Linked DNA regions of Homo sapiens: region 2 is linked to region 1. Evidence: promoter capture Hi-C in human tissues and cell types (Jung and others, 2019). All regions are on one chromosome and are shown on one strand. Each heading gives the region's core, a stretch centred on a gene start or on the middle of the fragment in contact. The rest is flanking DNA. Distances are from core to core; before and after follow the strand shown. Region 1 holds the start of SSH3 (slingshot protein phosphatase 3). Region 2 overlaps PC (pyruvate carboxylase).

The links. The method cuts DNA at HindIII sites, captures the fragments that hold promoters and counts their contacts. A contact is called where the count stands out against the background at its distance.
Region 2: a fragment that was not itself captured here is called in contact with the fragment with the promoter of SSH3 in region 1 in 1 of the 25 tissues and cell types used here (dorsolateral prefrontal cortex).

What each region holds. Positions count from the first base shown.
Region 1 is chr11:67,301,652-67,305,182 of GRCh38, forward strand. It overlaps SSH3 (slingshot protein phosphatase 3), which reads left to right and starts at 1,879. Exons shown (of 14, transcript NM_017857.4): 1 at 1,879-2,040; 2 at 2,467-2,504; 3 at 3,122-3,356. The coding sequence starts at 1,975. It overlaps ANKRD13D (ankyrin repeat domain 13D), which reads left to right. Exons shown (of 15, transcript NM_207354.3): 14 at 81-172; 15 at 468-833. The coding sequence ends at 681. RefSeq lists enhancers at 1,029-1,546, 1,547-2,066. The HindIII fragment of the contact is 10,588 bases long and covers 1-3,531 here.
Region 2 is chr11:66,868,257-66,872,036 of GRCh38, forward strand. PC (pyruvate carboxylase) reads right to left here. Exons shown (of 23, transcript NM_001040716.2): 4 at 3,768-3,780; 5 at 3,431-3,615; 6 at 3,059-3,224; 7 at 2,796-2,941; 8 at 2,519-2,636; 9 at 2,046-2,197; 10 at 590-708. Among named protein-coding and RNA genes, the nearest start is that of LRFN4, 13 kb to the left of the region's middle. RefSeq lists an enhancer at 516-625. The HindIII fragment of the contact is 6,756 bases long and covers 1-3,780 here.

The sequences.
Region 1 (3,531 bases), core at 629-3,128:
GTGGGACTTGCCCAGGGGGTGGGCTCTGGCCTCTGCAGCCACACGGCAGAAGTGACAGCTGTGGGCTCTGGTGGCTGCAGGTGACCGTCTGGGAAGCCCTGACCAACACCCGGCCCGGTGCCCGCCCTCCTCCCCAGGCCACGGTTTATGAGGAACAGCTTCAGCTGGAGCGGTGAGCCCCTCATGGGGCTGGCTGGGTCCCTGTCCCCCCAGCCCTGGCTTGGCGGGGAGGGGGATAGCAGGAAGGTGCTAGGACCCCAGGCCCTCTGCAAGGCCACCCTCTGTCAGCAGCGCTATCTGCCACCAAAGGTGGTGTGAGGGGTGGGGAAGCAGGGCCCTGCCTTGTCTCCTCTGCTTGCCACCCTGTCTTTGCCTTTGTCCTCCAAAGCCGGTCCCCAGCCCCTCGGCTTCTGCCCCAGCCTTGGCGCTCACTGGCCTGTTCTTCCCTCCCCTGCCCTGCCTGGAAGGGCCCTCCAGGAAAGCCTGCAGCTGTCCACAGAGCCCAGGGGCCCAGGATCCCCTCCCAGGACACCCCCAGCCCCCGGTCCACCCAGCTTTGAAGAGCAGCTGCGCCTGGCCCTGGAGTTGTCTTCACGGGAGCAGGAGGAGCGGGAGCGGCGCGGGCAGCAGGAGGAGGAGGACTTACAGCGGATCCTGCAGCTGTCACTCACTGAGCACTGAGCCATAGCCCCGGGAGGGCTGGCCAGGCCACTCCCTGCCCGCTTTTGTAATTTATTTATTTATAAACTCTCTGCTGCTGAGCTTGGGGCCTGGAGCCCCAGGAATGAGCAGGCAGGGGAGACTGAGATGGAAATAAAGAGACTGTCGCAGCAGGGCTGCTCTGCTCACTGGGCTGGAGCGGTGGGGACCCTGAAGGTGGGGCGCTGTGGAGAGGCACTGTGGATGGCGGCCTCAGACCTGGGCTTGAATCCTGGTCATGGTCCCCTTAGCCTATCTGAGCCTCAGTTTCTTCAGTTGTAAAATGAGGAGACCACCCCCCACCCTCCGCCCCTCAGGGCTGAAAGGAGCTGGCGAGAGTCACGTGTCCTTACCAAGCAGGCGTCCTGTGAAAGTCAGATCCCCTGTGCCCTGTCCCACCTGCTGGGGACCCGGTTCGTCCTGCCACCCAGCCTAGTCTTCTGGAAACCGGCCCACGTGCCTGCTGGGGAGGAAAAGCCTGGGTCCCCAGGCACCATTCACCTCCAGCTGGGAAGAGCCCCGACGCCGACCCCTGCAGCCAAGCCCAGGCCCTGGCCCTGACTGCGGCTTGTTCTCTGCGGGTGGGTTTGCGCAAGTCACTTCCGCCTGCGTAGCTGGAAGCCCTGCCCTGCTCGCCTCCGAGGTGGACCTGAGAGCCCCTCATGGGCTTCCTGGGTTATTTGTAAACCCCAGGCCGTTTTCCCCGGAAGCCTGTCTTCCAGTGGTTCCTGCGGAGTGGGAACGAGAAGGCCGACCAGCAGGGAGAAATGTTTGGGGTGGGGGCCCTTGGCCGAGGGCGCGCCGTGCCTGATCCTCTCTAGACCTGTCCCCCACCTCCCCACCTCAGCTCTGCCTCCCTAGGACCCGCCTCTGCAGGGCACAGGACGCTGGAGGCCCAGAACAGCTCAGGTGCTCCCGCTGGGCCGGCCCGGGCCGGGCGCTTCCTGGGAGGGGGACCAAACTCCCGGCCTTCAGCTCTTGCCCTCCGGGTCTCCGGGCTCCGCACCTGCGCCCGCCCCCGGCCTCGCCCCTGACCTGTGCCCAGGGGCTGGGCGGGCCGAACAGCGGAGACCGGAGGGGCGGGGCCCGGCCGCCCTGAGAAGCTCCGCGGGCCCGGCTGGGCGAGTGTCTGGCCCTTTAAGGGCCGCCCCCGAGGAGGTGCCAGGCCCGGGTGGCGCCGTCCGTCCTTCCTGGTCCTGCGGGTCCAGGACTGTCCGCGGGGTTGAGGGAAGGGGCCGTGCCCGGTGCCAGCCCAGGTGCTCGCGGCCTGGCTCCATGGCCCTGGTCACAGTGAGCCGTTCGCCCCCGGGCAGCGGCGCCTCCACGCCCGTGGGGCCCTGGGTGAGTGTGGTCCGGCCGTGGTGCCGCCCACGCAGTTGCTGCCCCGGCTTGGGAGCGCGTCCTGCCCGCCAGCGGGCTCCTCTCGAACGGGGACATGAGGAGGGGGCCCCGGGGCTCGGGCTGGAGGGCGCTGGGGGCCTCGAGGGTCTCTGGTACTGGCGCCGGGGCACAATCCAGAGCCCTGCGCGCCGCCCGGGCTGCGGAGGCCCCGATCTGAGCGCGCCCCCCGCCACACTCGGCGCCCACCCAGCCGACCTGGCCTTGGGCCGGGGCTCCACGGGGCCTCCCGGTGGGGCGTGGACTGGGGTGGGAAGACGATTGGCATCTGGCGCCTTTTCTGGCCTCCCCCAACTCTAGAATTCCTGAGAGAGGGGAGGGGACAGCCCTCCCCGCCCTCACCCTGCCCTGGGGCTGCTCTCTCCGCAGGACCAGGCGGTCCAGCGAAGGAGTCGACTCCAGCGAAGGTGAGCGCCACCTCCCCCACGCAGACACTTCCGTCTGCCCCGGGCCTGGCCACGGCCGTCCTGGGCTCCAGCTGCAGGGACAGAAAGCTCCCCGGAGGACGCGCAGCGAAGCCCACTGCCAAATTTGTGGGGCAGCGTTCCCGGTGGGGCCGGCTGGTGGGCTCGCGGTAGGGCGGCCTTTGCCTTCACCCTCCCCCTGGTCAGCTGGGGCTTCCTCATCCACTGCCCTGGGCTTTGGCTCAGGTGGTGGCCACGGGCCGAACGGCAGGAGGGCATGATGGGCCTGAGGACTCCTGGGTCCCCGACCATGTTCCCAGCAGCACTTGAGTTAAACAGGTGGGAGGGGAAAAGGAGCAGCCCCCTCTCCCCACAGATGAGCTAGAGTAGAGGGGCTGAGAGCTTGGAAGCCCCCAAGACTGGTTCTCAGCAATATTGCCAAGGGGCCGAGGGGTTAGAAATGCAGATGCTCAGGCCTCCACTCTAGACCTATCGACCGCGTGGGGGCCCATGAATCCGTGTAGACAAGGGCTGCAGGTGAATGTGATGCATGCTAGACTTTGAGAGCCCCTACCCTAAGGGGAATGAGGAGCCATGACAGTTGCCCACTGCCCTGCCAGGCAGAGCTTTGCGGTGCTCCGTGGGGCTGTCCTGGGACTGCAGGATGGAGGGGACAATGATGATGCAGCAGAGGCCAGTTCTGAGCCAACAGAGAAGGCCCCGAGTGAGGAGGAGCTCCACGGGGACCAGACAGACTTCGGGCAAGGATCCCAGAGTCCCCAGAAGCAGGAGGAGCAGAGGCAGCACCTGCACCTCATGGTACAGCTGCTGAGGCCGCAGGATGACATCCGCCTGGTGAGGGCCCATGTGGAGCTCCGGGGGGTGGGGGGAAGAGACACGCCTGAGGGCAGAATGGAGCCCTGTGTATGTGTCTGCTTGGGGAGCAATGGTGTGAGGGCAGGGGGCAGCCTGGGGAGTGTTGGGGTTACCCATATCCCAGTGACCCTGCTGTTTCAGGCAGAGATGTTTT
Region 2 (3,780 bases), core at 1,281-3,780, 430 kb before region 1:
ACTAATTGCCTAACAATCGAGGACTATGTAAGTTAAGAAATACACACAAGACGGAATAGTACGCAGCCACTAAAAGTATTCAGACAGAATTATGGCCTGGGGAAATGCCTTCAACAAATATTAAATAATTTGAAAAGTAGAATAAAAATTCTATATAAAACATCTCTATTGCATCAAACTATGTCTCTAGTAAAACAGGTAAACCGGGAAAGGAGCAAACCAAAGACAGCCGGAGATGCCTGGGTTCCAGCGCCAGCTGTGTGACCCCGAGCAACTCTCCAAATGTCTCTGAGCCTTGCTTTACTCCTCTGACAGATGGGAGCACCTGGGCCTGAGCAATCGGCAGCGTCCTGACAGAGAGGAGGGCTGTCAGTCATTTTTATTTGCTCCTTTGTGCTGATTTTTATAATAACCACGTAATGCTTTTAGAATAATGACTTTTAAAACACTAAGTACCTGGATCCCCATTGCTCTCCACCAATGTGGGGAGTGAGCAAGCCCCCTGGCTGGCCCCAGGAGCCACTTCGCCTGTACTTTATGCAAATCCTAGAAGCCGCGCCTCCCGCCCCGCCTGCCCGCCCACACTCACTCGGTGATCTCCTCTGTGACCGTGTGCTCCACCTGCAGGCGGGAGTTGACCTCGATGAAGTAGTGCTTGCCGTGCCTGTCCACCAGGAACTCCACGGTGCCTGCGTTCTCGTAGCCCACCTGTGGGGGCGGCCACGTGAGCAGGGGAGGGCACAGGCAGGGCCTGGGCAAACTCACTGGACTCAGGACAGGGATTCCGTCCCACCCATTGGGTTGGTTCCGTAAAAGAATGGCCTGTGGCAAACCCTGCCCCCACAGATGGCAGACAGACCCCAGGGCCCAGGTCATGCTCCTGCCTGGACACGTCCCCCAAGTAGTCCACTAGGCTCCAGGGTTCCCGGAGCCACAGATGGCTGCACCCAGCTTATCTGGGACGAGACATGGGCAGAAGCCCCCACCCATCCCAGGCTCGGCACCTTGCCCTGCTGCCTCCTGGGCTTGCCCGCCAAGGCTGTGTCATCCACCCAGACACGGAGACCCAGGCCTCTCCCAGCCGCTGCTTCTGCTTGGAGGTGTTTTCAGAAAGTCCCCTTCTAGTCTACTGCGCAGTCACCTCTGGCCACCACCACCCAAAGAAATTCATTTGAGAGGTACCAACAGATAATGACTCTAACTCAAATTTCAGCCCTAATTCCAGTTTCACTTTTGGTCTCACCAAAACGATAAACCAGACTGAATCACCTCCCTTAAACCTGTTCTGGAATGTGAAATAGTATAAGCCAGTAAATAAGACCTGACTTAAACGCGACCCTGGTCGATGCCTCGCATTAGCTGTGGCTGAGGCCTTGCTGCAGAGTGCACACCCCGGCCTTCGGCATGGGGAGGTGACGCATCCTCTGCTGCCTATAGGCCAGGGAAGAAGAGGGGGCAGGACCCCGCTGCACACCTGGCCACAGCAGGTGCTCTCCAGGCCAGTCCTGGGGCAGGTCACTGTGGGGAGATAGCTTGCCACCTCAGCCTCCTCCACAGCCCAGGACCCCCCGACCAGAGGTCCCAGAAAAGCAGAGATGGGCAGAGGGTGCAGAGCAAGGAAACAGATCATAATAAACATGATGTAGGAGACAGAAGCACATGAGGGAGGACTGCCTTCATAATGGTCCTCAATCTTGACAGAATCCACGGAATCTCATTCTCCTGATGACAGGGATGAGCTGATGCCACAGAGAAGCCAGGTCTGTGTAGCAGCAGGGCTGAGGAGGCGGCTGGGGCTCCTTCCCTCCCTCTTCTCAGCCATCCTGGACTCTAAGCTTGGCCTCTGGGCCAGGTGCCTCAACTGCACATGGGAAGGATGCCACAAACCCACTTCTGGCCCCCAGGAGAGTCCTTCACCCTCTTCTCCCCATCCCCAGTCCCCAGAAGGGGACTCAGGGTCCCCTTCCCCAACCAGCGCCCCACTGTGAGGCCTGCCGGCCTGTGAGCACAGGCTCCTGTCCCAACACGGGAAGCCCACCCTTCACCTGTTTAGCGAGTTTCACAGAGTCGCTGGTGAGCCGAGTCCGAAGCTGCGGGTCCAGGTGGGCGGCGGGGGCAATCTCGACCACCTTCTGGTGCCGCCGCTGGATGGAGCAGTCTCGCTCGTACAGGTGCAGGATGTTCCCATACTGGTCCCCTGGGGAGGGAGGTAAACTGGGCTTAGCTTTTACTGGAATCTACACGCCTCCTAAATGCCCCATCACCCCCACATAACCACTGTCGCCAGTCAGTGCCGGCTGCCAGCGGTACAGAGGCTGCCAGGAGAGACACCAGCATCACCAAGGCTGTGAGGACCAACTGCCAGCTCGGCCCCTAGAGCCCACTTTCCAGAGTCCTCTGGAAAAGCGCCCGACAGGCCCCAGGGCTGTCCCCAAGGCCAGCCACTGTGACGGCACCAGGACTGGGCCTCTCAGCTCCCGCCTCCAGCTGCCCCAGGCGGGGCGTCAGGACCACTCACCCAAGATCTGCACCTCGATGTGCCGTGGCTTCTCGATGAACTTCTCCACAAACAGCGCCCCATTCCCAAAGGCGGCCAGAGCCTCTGAGTAGGCCCGGGTGTAATTCTCCTCCAGCTCCTGCGAGGGCGGGCAGGGGCCAGCCAGACCTCAGACCCCACAGCGCTACCTCTCCCCTGCCATGAACCCCACCCACTTTCCAGATCCCTTGAGTGGTCCGCCCCTGCCCCCACGGCAGGCTGCCCTGCCCTGCTCCCAGCCCTGGGCATCTTCACTCACCTCGTAGCTGTGCACCACCCTCATGCCACGCCCTCCACCCCCATAGGCCGCCTTGAAGATGATGGGGAAGCCGTAGGTGTTGGAGAACTCGTGGGCCTCATGCAGGGACGTGATGGGGGCATCTGTGCCAGGGACAACGGGAACACCTGTTGGGAGAAAGGTGTGGGGGAGTCTCTGTAACAGGCGGGAATCCCTGCCACCCCTCCCTGCTGGACCCTCTCCAGGAGCTGCGGGGCCACCCCTTGCTTGCCCGTTATATTCACCCGCAGCAATGGCGATGGCCCGGGCCTCCACCTTGTCTCCCATCTTGCGGACCACTTCTGGGCTTGGCCCAATAAACCGGACCCCTGCATCCTGGCAGGCCTGGGCGAAGTCCGCTCGCTCAGAGAGGAACCCGTAGCCAGGGTGCACTGCATCTACGTTGTTCTCCTGCAGGTGGGGGTCAGGGAGAGGACGGTACCTTGCAGTCCCTTCCAAGGCCTCGGCCAGCCTCTTCCCCTGCCTAACCTGCTGAGCTGCATCCGTTTACCCACCCACGCACAGAGGCGCTGAGCACGCCAGCCTCAAGAGACCCCCGCGGCAACTAAGACTCCCTGGTCCCTGCTGTCCAGGCCCAGCCAGGCCACTGGGCTCACCTTGGCCACCTTGATGATGTCTGGGATGTGCAGGTAGGCCTGCACGGGGGCCAGGCCGCGGCCGATGAGATAGGCTTCATCTGCTTTCTGCCGGTGCATCTGGCCCGTGTCCTGCTCAGAGTAGATGGCTACGGTGCGGATGCCCAGCTCCGTGCAGGCCCGGAACACACGGATGGCAATCTCACCTAGAGGGCAAAGAAACAAGAAGTTAGATTCCTAGGTCCTAGGAGAAGCAGAAAGGGGAGTGGGAAGCCAGGGCCTGGGGCAGTGAGTGGGAGAAGAATGCCAAGGCTGGGGCGGCCATGAGGCTCCTCTCACCGGCCCCACTGGTGCTCACCTCTGTTGGCCAC